Regions from separate parts of the Homo sapiens genome. Here all the other regions are linked to region 1. The links are contacts of gene promoters, found by promoter capture Hi-C in blood cells and fetal thymus (Javierre and others, 2016). All regions are on one chromosome and are shown on one strand. The core of a region is centred on a gene start or on the middle of the fragment in contact, and the rest is flanking DNA. Distances in the headings are between cores, read along the strand shown. Region 1 holds the start of MEIS1-AS3 (MEIS1 antisense RNA 3). Region 2 has its middle 3.7 kb from the start of ETAA1. Region 3 has its middle 79 kb from the start of ETAA1. Region 4 overlaps LINC01828 (long intergenic non-protein coding RNA 1828). Region 5 holds the start of LINC01829 (long intergenic non-protein coding RNA 1829).

Evidence for each region. The method cuts DNA at HindIII sites, captures the fragments that hold promoters and counts their contacts. A CHiCAGO score of 5 or more calls a contact.
Region 2: a contact is called between a fragment that was not itself captured here and the fragment with the promoter of MEIS1-AS3 in region 1, in 1 of 17 cell types (M1 macrophages). The highest score is 6.6, in M1 macrophages.
Region 3: a fragment that was not itself captured here is called in contact with the fragment with the promoter of MEIS1-AS3 in region 1 in 1 of 17 cell types (endothelial precursors); the score reaches 6.5 in endothelial precursors.
Region 4: a fragment that was not itself captured here is called in contact with the fragment with the promoter of MEIS1-AS3 in region 1 in 1 of 17 cell types (megakaryocytes); the score reaches 8.1 in megakaryocytes.
Region 5: a fragment that was not itself captured here is called in contact with the fragment with the promoter of MEIS1-AS3 in region 1 in 1 of 17 cell types (megakaryocytes); the score reaches 13.3 in megakaryocytes.

The regions. Positions count from the first base shown.
Region 1 is chr2:66,432,135-66,434,757 of GRCh38, reverse strand. It overlaps MEIS1-AS3 (MEIS1 antisense RNA 3), which reads left to right and starts at 1,288. Exons shown (of 4, transcript NR_046438.2): 1 at 1,288-1,467. RefSeq lists enhancers at 1-237, 1,107-1,459 and a silencer at 482-581. The HindIII fragment of the contact is 5,363 bases long and covers 963-2,623 here.
Region 2 is chr2:67,392,276-67,394,898 of GRCh38, reverse strand. No RefSeq gene overlaps it. Among named protein-coding and RNA genes, the nearest start is that of ETAA1, 3.7 kb to the left of the region's middle. The HindIII fragment of the contact is 1,937 bases long and covers 323-2,259 here.
Region 3 is chr2:67,317,300-67,319,922 of GRCh38, reverse strand. No RefSeq gene overlaps it. Among named protein-coding and RNA genes, the nearest start is that of ETAA1, 79 kb to the left of the region's middle. The HindIII fragment of the contact is 3,146 bases long and covers 1-2,623 here.
Region 4 is chr2:67,233,731-67,236,353 of GRCh38, reverse strand. The region is part of intron 1 of LINC01828 (long intergenic non-protein coding RNA 1828); the gene reads right to left. The region is part of intron 2 of LOC101927661 (a long non-coding RNA gene); the gene reads right to left. Among named protein-coding and RNA genes, the nearest start is that of LINC01829, 20 kb to the right of the region's middle. RefSeq lists an enhancer at 1-913. The HindIII fragment of the contact is 1,620 bases long and covers 523-2,142 here.
Region 5 is chr2:67,214,519-67,217,141 of GRCh38, reverse strand. The region is part of intron 1 of LINC01828 (long intergenic non-protein coding RNA 1828); the gene reads right to left. LINC01829 (long intergenic non-protein coding RNA 1829) reads left to right here and starts at 1,823. Exons shown (of 8, transcript NR_038844.1): 1 at 1,823-1,914. All of the region lies in intron 1 of LOC101927661 (a long non-coding RNA gene), which reads right to left. The HindIII fragment of the contact is 6,157 bases long and covers 1-2,623 here.

The sequences.
Region 1 (2,623 bases), core at 39-2,538:
TCGAAATTATTGGGGTCTGCCAGTGTTTTTCGGGGCAGGGGGTGATGCGCAAAGTACTGAATTCTCAGAACTAAACACTGCAAGGAGAAAAGTCAAAGCGGGATCGTGGAGGAAAAGGAGGGAGAAGCCAGGTTGGGAAAGCCTCTGCTAAGGAGTCCTGAGAACATGGGGTTGAGGTGGCTCGGGCTTTCTGCAGACCCAGCTTAGAGGTTTCTTTGCTGTTAGAGGTGGACGCCCGGCCGGGGGAAAGAAAATGCTAGCATTTTGTCACTTCGGGTCTGGACTCCCCCACCTCCTAGCCCCGGCGGCTCCCAGCCCCAGCCCAGGCGTCCTGCGCGAAGTAGAGAGGAAGGGAGGGAACAATGAGCTGAGCGCGGGGAATGTGCCCCCAGCGCCTGTTTACAAACACCAAGCTATTTATGATCGTCGGAAAGCGAAACCCGGCGCGGGCTCGCAGCAGCCCAGACCTCGCGGGCGGAGCCGGGGCCGGGGAGCCGCTGGGAGGGAGGCTCTTTCTCCGACCCGCTCGGGGTGAGGCGGCCGTGCGCCCAGGGCGCGGCGCGGCGCGGCGCGACGCTGCCGGAGTGCTAGGCTCCGGCTGCAGCCACCGCTGCCTTTGTCTTAGAGGCGCCGAGGGGCTCCAGCCTCGACCTCTCCCGGGCCTGTAAGAACCTCGCGCCCCACTAGCTCTTTCTCCAGCGAAGCCCTGCCCTCACCACCCCAGACATCCTTCCCCGCGCTCCTCTTTCCCGTCCCCAACCCGGCTCGGCGAAACCTCCCAGTGCCAGAGAAAAAGAAATCCGCTTCGGAAGCTGAGATTTCAGACAAAAGCTGCCTGTACCTACAACTCGGAGGCTCCAACCAACCACTGTTTTTTGTTTTGTTTTGTTTTTAACTTTAACACCTATTGCCTGGGCTTTAATTCCCCCTCACCCCTTCTCTTTATTCTCCCGCTCTAAGCTTCTCCCTTGTGATTATATTTAGTGGCGTTATTTTCGTATTTATATTTCTGTCCGCTGGGCTCTGATCTGCCGAGATGGCTCAGCCGCAGCAGCTCTACCAGTGGCTGGAAACCTCACATCCACAAGCAGGGCTCGCAGCTCGCTCGGCTCCGAGAGGATTTTTCCCCCTCCCTCCAGCTGAAACCTCGCAGAAAACTCCCCCTGCGGTCGACTGGAAAATGAGCTCACCCAAATCTCGGTAGGCAGCCGTGGAGGAGTGCTCGGCCAATCAGGAGGCGCCCCCGCCCAGGCCGCCGCGCATTGGCTGCGGGGAAAATCAATTATCAAATAATCGATCAGCAGGGAGCTTCGATCTGCGGGGAATGCGAACTGCCAGTCCCTATTCCCGCCCTGAAGGTGGCCAAAAGGCTGACTCCCTCCAAGCAGCCCGCCCGCGCCTCCATCGCCCCCACCCACGTCCCACTCGCCAGCTGCGGACTGAACCCTCACCCTCAAGGGGGTGTAGGTAGGGAAAGAGTTTTGAGCAAGATTGGGGGTATCCCTTCATCCGAAGATTGTTTGGGAAAGGTTAGGAGCTCTAAAATGTATTGAAGCCAACTCTTAAGCGCAAAGTAAAAGATAATTTGCGTCCGTCTGCGAGGTAGGACTGAAGATTCTATAGAGTGGGCTTCCGAGGAGCAGGAGACACAGGGCGAGCATGAGAACATAGGTCTGGAATGAGGTTCCACCGAGCGTCCGTAGTCTCCTTAGGCGACATCTATCGCTTCCTTTAGCACTTCGCAGGAGTCAACGCGGGGTTGGTTGCCCCCAACAGTGGAGCGTTTCCATAAAGCCGAGCAGATGAGCCTTCCCAGCCGCCTGCACTGCACCCTTCCCCGCCCCCAACTCCGTACTGGCACCCTGTGTGCCTGAAGGGCTGACACACGTTCTCCCAAAACCTTCAGAAGCGCTTTGCCTTGAAAGAGCTCTCCCTCGTGTGTGTGTGTGTGTGTGTGTGTGTGTGTGTGTGTGTGTGTGTGTGTGTGTGTTTAAACCATCTCCAGGATCCCTTATCATTTGCTTCCTCTCTCCTTTTTCTCTCTGTTTCTCCCTGTCTTTTTTCTGACGCTTAAGTTTCAGGATCTTTTAGTTTTTTTCCATCACATACATGTGTAGGTTTTCTGGTACAAACGCCCTGAAACATCACTTGGGAGGTTAAGACAGGCCCGCGAGTAAAAGCTGGGGACGGAGTGGGTGGGCAGCCAGGTGCATTACCAGCGCCTTTATGCCTCTGCCTACACTTCCCGGCCTCCCCCCATCCCCCCACCCCCCCACCCCACGCCTCACCGTCGCTCCCCGGCCCCACAACATGAACTTGGAAGCAGAATTTCAGGCCAAGATGGAACCTCCCCGTCTCAGGAAGGCGATTTCTGTTTAATCCTTGGGAGGCTGCGCTGGCTGGGCCAGGCAGCACGCTCCTTTTCCGATTAGGGAAAGGACTAAGCTGGGCCGGCAGTCTGCGACCCCTTCCCGGAACCCCAGCCGACTTCGGGGTATACCTGAGCGCCTTCCGATGGCTGCTCGCGGGGGTGTGATCATCGTCCCCGCATCAGGCCCGCCAGGCATCTGCGCGACTCGGGGGTAGGAGGGAGATGCGTGGGTGGGAGGTGGGGGTCAAACCA
Region 2 (2,623 bases), core at 42-2,541, 960 kb before region 1:
CTGGGCAACAGAAAAAAAAAAGAAAAAACAAAGAAGAAGAAAAATGCTTTTAGCAGTAAAATTCAATTCAAAATTACTTCATACTGTAAGTGGACCAAATGCTTTCCAACAGTAGAATGATAAATATATTGAACTATATTCACACAACAAAATAGCAATGAAAATGAAAACTACAACTCTGTGCGACAACATGGATAAATCTGACAAACATAAAGTTGAGCAAAAAAAAGCTAGACCTCCCAACCCTCCTCCATAATGTTAAATAAATCCCATATAAATTCCATCAGGCAAAGTTCTACTATATTGTATAGGGATGTAAGCTTTAGTGTTAAAATGATAAAGAAAAATCTAGGAATGATTACCATAAAGGTCAGGATAATAGTTACCTTCGGGAGGGGGAAGGGACAGTGATTAGAAGTGGACAGAGGGAGGAGAGAATTTCATGTATTTATTGGCTTTGTTTATTTTCATGTTCTAGTTGTTAATTACAAAAGTATTTGCTTTGTGGTAATCTACTGAGCTGTACATTTTGTTCATTTTCTACACACATGTTATATTTATCAATTAAAATGTTTAAAATGTTAATGTAAGGCAAAGATCTTAGTTCCTACTGAGGAGCTGATATATTTCTTCTATCTTGTAAACTATTCTGTTTTTACTCTTTAATTTTGCTGACAGAAATCCTAGAACTAAATTTGAGATTCAGGGCTAGCAGTTATATAAACCATATAAACCGTTGTGAATAGATAATTCCATTATTTTTCCTCAGTGTTTGACCTTCTACTAATACTTTTTCTTTCCATGATTGTTTTTTACCTACATGTATTTAAACCATTGTTTAGTTTTATTTATTTATAACCGGATAAGACTGGAATACAAGTGATATTACATCTTTTAAAATTCAAATTAATTACTTGAACCTTCACTTGTATAAATTAGCAGGAATATTACTATTTCTCTCAGAGATCTCTCCTACCTCTCAAATGACCAAAAATCCTAGAAGCATTAAAAAAAATGTAAAAAGAACTTAATTTACCAAATAAATATCCAACTCACATTTAGAAAGTAATTAAGGAAGTTTAAAGAATTTAGTGATGTTTATAAGAGAAATAACCATGTAGTAATCCTTTAAAGCATATTAATGCTGCAAATAAAATAACAGTGAATACTTTACCATAACTCCAAATTCTATAGTGCCCAAGTAACCATTGCTGAAATGAACAACTTGAGCCTAAAGTACAGACGTGTTGTCTTAACACACCTAGGATGGCTGTAACCTGTAATCATTATGGGGTAGGAAATTATAGTAAATTTTAACTTGAAAATTACTTACTTTACATAATCTGTTACATTTCTAAGTGTACTTCAAATTAAATTTACTTCCTGACTATAGCTCCTGAAATAAGTATAACACAATTAACTCCTTAATAAAATGTTTTTAATGTGAAACAAAAGTCTTACAGATGTTTGAATGCAATATGATTCATAGCTCAGCATTTCTAGGCATTTGAATAATTTATACATATAAGTAAGGTTTACTGCAACTAAAAACTGTAATAAACCAAAGTGAAACTCTTGCTTGTTTCACTTACAGGGATTATTTATAAACTTGACAATAATTATTAAGGCAAAAATTGTGACACTGAAGGTCTGAGTTACTAAGGAGCTTCTCTGCCAGTGATTGCCTCCTCACTTACATTACAACGATGGGTCAATGCTACTGATCAATGGCTAACTGTGAGCAGTCTTCCTTTCAAGAAAAAAAAATCCATAATTATGTGAATTATGTTTGTGTTTTATATACAGAGCTCCAGCTCCAAATCTGTGAGAGTGCATTTGGCAGAATCTGAACAAGCAACACAATGATTAGAGGGTTTTTGTTTTTTTGTTTGTTTTTAACAGTTTTGTTACAATGTTTCCACCCCAAAATGTACCTGGGTAAGTGCTGGGCCCATTTTTCCTTATTCCTGACATAGCTGCAATTGTATTAGCTAGAACCACCTATTATGCCTAGCTGCTCCATCAGGAGCCTCTGCTGCCTAGGTGACCATGTCTGGCCAGACGGGCCCAATCGGGTAAAAATGACTGGACTAGACATGGGCACCTGATTTTAGGAACCAGTCCATAGCCAGCTTCTCCACCTCTGACTGACACAAAAAGATGCATTGAGACAATCCTATTCTTTCTTGGAGATTTGAACTAAGAATTTGCTAGAGGGCCCTGTGCAAAACCATGGTGGGCAGAAACTACGAAGAAGCTTGCTCAAAGTGGAACTGAAGGAAGTAGCAGAATTATGCAGACTGGGGACCACTGGAATCAACATCTGTTGACTCTGGATACCTTGAAACCCAACCACCATTCAGCTTCAATGTCCGTAAGACCAGATTTTACTGTGATACCAGTCCTTTTTTCTTTCAATGTGAGCCTTTACAGTAAACTTCCTTTGTTAGGTAGGGGCTAGCTAATGCCAGTTGGTCTCTATTTCTTACATCTAAAAAGAAACCTGAACTAAAACATAGAACAAACACCAGAATTGGGTCAAGGGTTGTAGTCTTATTGTTTCTCAATTAAAAGAATATTATTTTTAAAAGTTCAAAATAGAATGAAACAAAATCCCATTTAA
Region 3 (2,623 bases), core at 37-2,536, 890 kb before region 1:
TTATCAGTAATCAATTTATACTTTTTCTTTAGATGTCATAAATAATCACCATAGATTTTTGAGGGGAAAAATTAGACAACTCCAATTTCCAAAGATGTTAATTTTAAAACCAGTATCCCAACGTGTGGTTTTAGTATTCAAACCTAATTTGATTTCTATGGAATCATAGTGCACTTATATTTTATTAAATAATAATTCCCTCTTTTATTAAAAAAATCCTGCTTATTATATTTAACTCTAAACGACAGCTTTTTCGCCTCTCAGTTCTCAAAAACCCTGAGCAGCCATTTCAGAAAACAAAACAAAAGAAAACCCCACATATCAAAACACCACAAAACCCTCTCATTAAGCTCTCTGCAAAGTTTGAGATGTACTTTCATGTGAATCTTGGCCTCTGTACAGCACTGCTGCACAATCATTTTCATCTGAGATTTGAACATATTGGAAGAACTAGAGCCTTCCTTTCTTTTATCCTGTCATTTCCCCCGCTGGAAGTGATGGGCATATGGCAGGCACCCTCCCTAGATTCTCAAACAACAGGAGGGACCTGATTTCAATTCCTACATCCTGTCATCAGTGACTCTCGGGATATTTTGTTCTTGCAAGGCTAAGGATGTGATTCGAATTTGCCATACGGACAGAGCTTAATGCGATGCCATTTTTACCACTGGCGCCCTCAATCAGTTAATTAAACATGATATAAATCACCACATGTATTTGTTAAGTAAGATTAATATGGCAAAGTCAAAGTAAAAAATGAGGAATCCTCCCCATCCTAGGAGTGTGAATCACTGATAGGAAGATTACACTTTTGGAAACTCAATACTTTTGAGCAGGCTTTGTTGGTTTAATCCCTCAGACTGCTTTGTGCAACTTGAAACCTAGAGCTGTCATCTTTAGCCAAAATTTCAGCCATAACTTCCTCAGCTTTCACCCCATTATTGAAATCAGCATTCACAATACTTAACAAAGATCAAACCTTTCAGCGGACCACGGGGCAGCCTCTTACCACCTGGGACACCAGAAACATGTTTAATAAATATTTCATTTTGTTTTAACATGAAGACTCCCTGGTTTCAATTTTTTTTTTCTTTCCTGGGGAGCTAAGGGCTACCACCAAGCTGCACATTCCGTCACTATGGTCAGTTAGGTTTATAGCCTTAATAAAAGGATTTGCCCCCCTTCACATGCTAGGGAGCCTTGTTAAACCACAGCAATTATAGAAACACAAGATAGGTGCTCTGCAAAGATCAAAGCTCACTTAAAGACAGCTCTGTAGGAATTTGGAGCTCTCTTTGAAAAGTGCTCAGTTTACAAAGTATAGAGGTATTAAACCCTAGGAATTAAAAACTTATTTTAGAATAATGTTTAAAGTCTGACAGTAGTTAATATGGGATCTCCTTCAGTCACTCTTTGTGTATTATTTCTAATATCTATTCACGGCATACCTATAATAGCTCCAAAGGAACCATTACGCTCAGAAGACATACGCATATGATGGATCCTTAATACCAAATGCATTACCTACTCAGTAGGTACATTTTAACCTCAATATCCCAGCTCAGGGACAGGGTAGAAAAATAGCATGTAAATTTCTTTAGGAGGAAAAAAATGCAGCATGCCTGGGTCTTCAGCTTTGTGGCTCAGTGGAATCCCTAGAGGCTGCTTTCCATGCAGGAGGGATAGGTGATGGCCTGTGCTGGGCTGCACCAGGTCACTTTAGCATCTGGCCTTTGGGGCTGCCGCACAACTCACCCAACTCTAATTGGATGTTGAAGTACCCAGTCTTAAGCATTGTAATGTTTCCTCTACCTCTGTAGATTGTATCATTCATCCAGAAACACATACACACACACACACACACACACACACACACACACAGAGTAATGCATGTGGACTCCATTTCAGAAAAAGAATGCTAAACCCCGAGTGGCCTAAACTTAATTGTGTGGCTATGGGAGCTTTCGGGTGACAAAGGGTCTGCAAGCCAAATAATTACTTTTGTGTGCAGCATCTTACAACAGGGCAGTATAAATGGGCTTAGCCTGGGATTTTGAACTCTGTGCTTCAGCCTCGGAAAATGAGTTATTTAAAAGCAGCTATTGCCAGGAACATTTTAATATCTATTTAGAGAAAACTATTTGGGGTTTTTGGTGTCCAGGAGTCTTTAGCTTTGAAACATGTAGGTATAAATGCAAACCCCTCATTTCACGTCAGCATATCCATTTTAAATAAAAGGTTGTAATGATGATAAAAATAAGAGCTAATATTTGTTGACTGCTTGCTATTTGCCAGGCTGTATGCCCAGTACGTTACATGGAGTATTACATTTAATCTTCATGACAACCCTATGAGATAGGTTCTATTATCGTATTTATTTTCTAGACGAGGAGACTGTGGCTCAGAGGGGCAAAGATCACATCACTAGTAAGAGGTGGGGTTGTGATTTTAATCTGGGTTATATGACCCTAGAAGCCACGCTTTTACAGCCTGTTACTATCTGATTTGAAGTTTATTTTGTGCTGTGATCTAAAGTTTCTATTTTATGGTTTCTTTTTATTTAGCTGTAACTTTTAAGAGAATTCTAATCCTTGAAAATAAAGGTAACAGAGTCTATTTTTCC
Region 4 (2,623 bases), core at 83-2,582, 800 kb before region 1:
CCCACACTGTTGCAATGCTGTCTTCAATTCAGCCACTTCATATTGAAATTTCACACACAATAATTGGCTGACCTTCACAGCTATGGCAGAAACTAATTAAAGCTGTAAGGCTGTGCTAGCATTGCTTTTGTGTGAAATGTGAAGTTTGGTGATAATGAAATATGGGGTGCAGATGTTATTGTCTTAGATAGACCGTGCCCTTGGTTCACACTAATGAAGAACAGCAATTATTAAACAAAAAGTATTTTTTACTCATTAATTATTTTGTGTTGTGAAAGTAGAAGTACAAACACAGCACCACCTCTTCTACCAGCTAATCCCCAAAGTAATTTTATGGACTTTACCAGCTGACTTCTATATCATTAGGTATCCAGTTTTCACTTTCTCCCCCTACTGCTCTTAGACCTTTGGGAGCCTTAAGCAAGGACCTGGATGGGTTCAGAGAGCAAAGGGTAAAGGGCATGCTAAAAATGGTCACCCATAAAGATTTTTAGACAGCTGGAGGATTAAATGAATGAAGCTTTTTGGAAATAACTTCACACACCAAACAGAGATGTTGGTAGAAATATGATGCCATCCACATTGTTGTCGGATGATAGGCAAAGGTCACTGCTGCTCTTGAGGTGCAAGTAGAGAAATGAAGCAGGCCTGAGCTCTGTTTCTTGGTTGTTTGGAGTCTGGGTTTCTATTAATAGGTCAGTGTGACTTGCAGGACTTCCACTGGGTCAAATATAACAAATCACAGATTTGTAACAATTAAAGGAAAACACTAAAAAGGCACATTGTATTGGCAAGTCTTCACTTTCCATGGGCGAATGATCTAGTCTGCTTCTCTTTAGTCCTCTTCTCATTGACTATATTTTAAAATTTAAGTTATTTTTTTTTCCTCATTGACTTTGGGATACTCAATTCTTATTAACTGGCTGAGGTGGGAGAGACATGAATTAAACTTAAATTGTCCAATTTCCCTATTTGGGGAAGGAGAGTGAAATGATTAAGTTTAACTGTTACTTGTGTAATTTTTACTGTCATTCATACCCCGTACCATGAGCATGCAGGTAGCGACTGCATAGGGCACTGTATCAAGGCCTTGTCTAAGAGGTGTCAGCTAGTAAAATGCAGCAATGATGAAGATGGGAAGTGGCAGAAGCAGCAGTAGGTAGGTGGGCATCAACTGGATCATGTTACTTCAGACTAGGCAGGGGAACAAAGGCTTGAGAGGAGGAAGATTTGTGGTCATGGAGATACCATGTAGGGGGAGGTTTGCCATAGAGGTTAGAGGAGGTAGCTTTGGGCTCCATTTTCTTAATGGTTGTGCCAGTTGTCAATATACCTTAGTCTCTGGGTAATGGGATACTTAGTGGGACTATGACTGAATTTGAGGAGTAATTAATATGGCTAATGATGGTTATAATGACTGTTGGCATTCTATGTCTCTTCATTTTGGGGAAAGGATAAGAACATCTTCCCTTATATGAAGGATAGCTATACATTGTTAGGTGGAAACAGACTTGCATGGTTGTTGTAAAGAAGTTCATTTGCGTGCAGATGGGTGCACATAGAAGCTCAGTGACCAAAGGGGTGGACTATGTCAGTTATTAGGCTATTGCCTCTCACTTCCTAATCTACGCTTCATTGCCCTGCTTTTGATAGTGGGACATTTCTCCCTTGCCAGCTTGCACAATGTTCCCTTTTTGCAGTAGAGGGCACTGGAGGGACACTGGAGGAGGAAAGGGCTGTTCTTTCTGGTTTCTGTGTGTTTTCTGGTTACTTCTGTAGTATAAGGTAGGCAGCATTCACAGGACACCAGCAGGGTTCAGAGGCAGCACATTTCATGAGTATCTCCCCATTAGCAGCTTTTCCCCAGCAACGCAGAGGGCAGCTTTTTAGATGTTCCACTATTATGGGAAACTGGCCTGCCATTCAGTGAGCCATGAATGATCAAGTCCTCTCCAAGGGAGACTGGGTCTCACTGAGACCTTGAAGGAGGCAGGGCTTCACTGGGTCCTCTGCCTCAAACCTAGAGGTAGTGGCTGCTCCCTCTCTGTGCTATTTCTGTAATCTTACCCCAAATAGGTAAGAATTACCTACTCCTAAGATGGCAATCCACTCTTGTAGTTAATAATCCTTTTTCACTAAGCTTTCCTTGTTCACATTGCTATGTGGCTTCTGTCTCCTGATTGGAACCTGACTGATTCAGTGACCCTCCCATCTTCACTTCAATGACTTAAAAAAGAAGTAAATTAATTTGTTTATTATCATGACTGATTGAGTTAAATATAAAAGGCTAGGCAAGAAGGTATTGGTAATAGCAGAAAGGTGACAGAATATAATTGAAGCAATTGTCAGCTTTCAGAAGAAATAGATATGAATTAAAAGATTACAACCCTATGCAATTTTCAGTGTAAAGAATAATGAAAGAATGAACAAAAACTCTTAACTTTACCATATATCAAATAAAGCAGTAAATTAGACTGAAAATATAGAAAATATAAAAATGTGGTCACATTGTTCCATGTTAAAATGTACAGAGTACCCACTTAGAGATTACAAAAGGCCTGTAGTGTTAAATCCTTTGGGCTAAGACATGAAACATCAGCTTTGGAGTGGTCTTGGCTTACAG
Region 5 (2,623 bases), core at 73-2,572, 780 kb before region 1:
TTGGTGGGAAGGCTGGCATGCTTCTCCCATTGAGGGAGGGGGCAGGGTTACTTGAATTCAGTTAAGAGCTTCCTAGGCTTATCAGGGATAGGCTTATCTCTTTGTTCCTCCCTCCCCCCACCCTCATCCTGCCATTTCACCCAACCTTGGTAAACAATCTGAACATGACTATTATAAGGCTACACCCAGACAACAGTAATTGACAAAGGGATCATTAAGGAAAAAATAGGATTAGAGTGAAGGCTTTTGAAAAAGCATTAATTTGTATCCTGCATTCTCACTCACTGACAACTCTGTTAACTAATAAGAAAGGAAAATCTCAAGTCAGTTCCTTCCTACACTGTCACCCTTGTCTTTTCTCTCATTTGCTTAAGGTATCAAGTAGAGTCAACTTCAGCTGGAAATAGTGTAGGGCTTATTCTAGGCCACAACATGGGAGCAAAACAACCAGAGATTTAGCCAAATCCTAATTTATTTACCCCATTCTGACAGAGAGAAATGTTTGTTTATTTCTGAGGCTGTGCTATGATGTGCAGTTCAAGTGCTCTGACACTTTAACGCACCATGCAAGGTTAGCAGCCTGTTCACCCTTTATTAATTTGTTGGTGAATATATTTGGATTTTCACTTCATGCCAATAAATGCAAGAAGGGATGCAGTTTTGACATTGTTTCTTTACCCTTACACTCCATGTAAACCAAAAGTTGTCTATCTGGCAGCTTAGTGGCTATATGTAAAGCCCCTGTTTACTTAATCTGAAGGTCCGTTTCATTTCTGCTTGGTTTGCAAAATAAATGAAATGAACGAGTGTGTCAGAATTAGAATTGTGAGAGTCTGAAAAAGACATTTGGGTCACTGAGTGACTAAAAGCACTCTCTGTTTACATGTTTCTTCAGTTTCTGTCGCTGCAGCTGTGTCACAGCTTATAACAACTAATCCCTTTTTATTTACATTTTACTTTATTTTGTATTAAAGGCACTATTAAGCCACGTCTTCCAAATGTGTCTGAGGTTTCATAACTATCTTAATAGTGTATACACATTACAGTTATGGCAGAGAACTTCCTCCAAGTCTGGGTTTTGTTAAGAGTGACTTTAAGAATAATAGTTTATAGGACAATTAAAACGTGTTAATCTATATTTGAAAACTTGATCTGGTTAAAAATCGGTTCCCCGTCCGCTTATATTTGCCAGTTTTCTACATCATGTAGCTGGGGTTTTCCTGAGAGGTGGAAAGAGTGGGTTGTGGGAAGAGATGGCTGGAGAAAGCCTGGGAGCTAAGCTGATTTTAGGCCTTTGGGCTGAGGTCCTGTTAACATAACCTATGTTCTGCTTCAGGGGAAAATGACGCACGGAAGGTTGGAAATGGGGTTTGAGCGAGCACACTTTTCATGCTCAACAAAGCCTAACATCATTTTACTATACGATTTGAGTTATGTGCATGCTTTTAATAAACTGATCCTCACAAAAAATAAATAGATTTGTTCTGCTTAAACTGGCATACAAAGGGCTCAGAGGAAAAAAACTCTTTAACAAACACCTCTTGGGGATTGGAAGGTAACTTCACACTCCAGCTTCACGTTGGGAACGTGTGATAACAATTTGACAGGAAGTAAGTGGATTCTGTCCCAAGCCTTGGGAATAGACTTGACCCTGAGCATAATGTGTGAGTCTGAGGCCAAGAGCTTCCCGCCCAGCAGGGGGTAGCCAAGCGCCGATGACTGGGCAGGAATTCAACCCCATAGGTTCCCATCTCTTCCCACCGCCCGTCAGCAACACAGCTCTCCCTTTCTAGAAACAGGGTTTCCCCTCCAGGCTTGGATTCTTAAATCTAAAAAGAGCCTCTCACCTGAGGCCTTCACCTGAGAGCTGGAGCCTGTGCGATGGATTATCTGGACAGGGACCCCAATGAACAGGTGGAAAAGTACATTTATCTGCCTAAGGCTTGGAATGAAAATTGGGGGTGGGGTGGGTAGAGGCAGATTTTACTCTTCTTCAGATTCTTTTCTCTGTCTCCCAGTGGGCACAGGCTGAGCCTTGCGGGGATAGAAGAGAGATAGAGAGGTTAGGCCCTGGTTCTCTGTGTAGGGTGGTATGCATGTGTGTGTGGAGGGATATGGGTGTGAGTGTGCTGTGTATATGTGTGGAAAGCGTGTGTGTAGGTGTGTTAGAAGCGTGTGTGGGTGAATATGTGTGTGGGGTGGTGGGGAGTGTGTGTGTGGGGGTGAATATGTGTGTGTGGGGTGGTGGGGAGTGTGTGTATGGGTGTGTGTGGGGGAATGTGGGTGTGTGGATGTGTGTGTGGGTAGGGAGTGTGTGTGTATGGGGTTGTGTATATGTGGGGGAAATGTGTGTATGGGTGTGTGGGTATGTATGTGTTTACGGTGAATATGTGTGTGAGGAGAGTAAGTGCATGTATGAGTATGTGTGTCTGTATGTGGGTATATGTGTGGGGTATGTGTGTGTGGGGTTTGTGTTTTGGGGGGGTGTATGTGGGTGTGTATATGTGGGTATGTATGTGGGGTGTGTGGGTGTGTATGTGTCGGGGGGAAGTATGTGGGTACGTGTGGGGGGATGTATGTGCGTATGTGTGTGGGGTGTGTGGATGTGGGTGTGTGTGTCTGT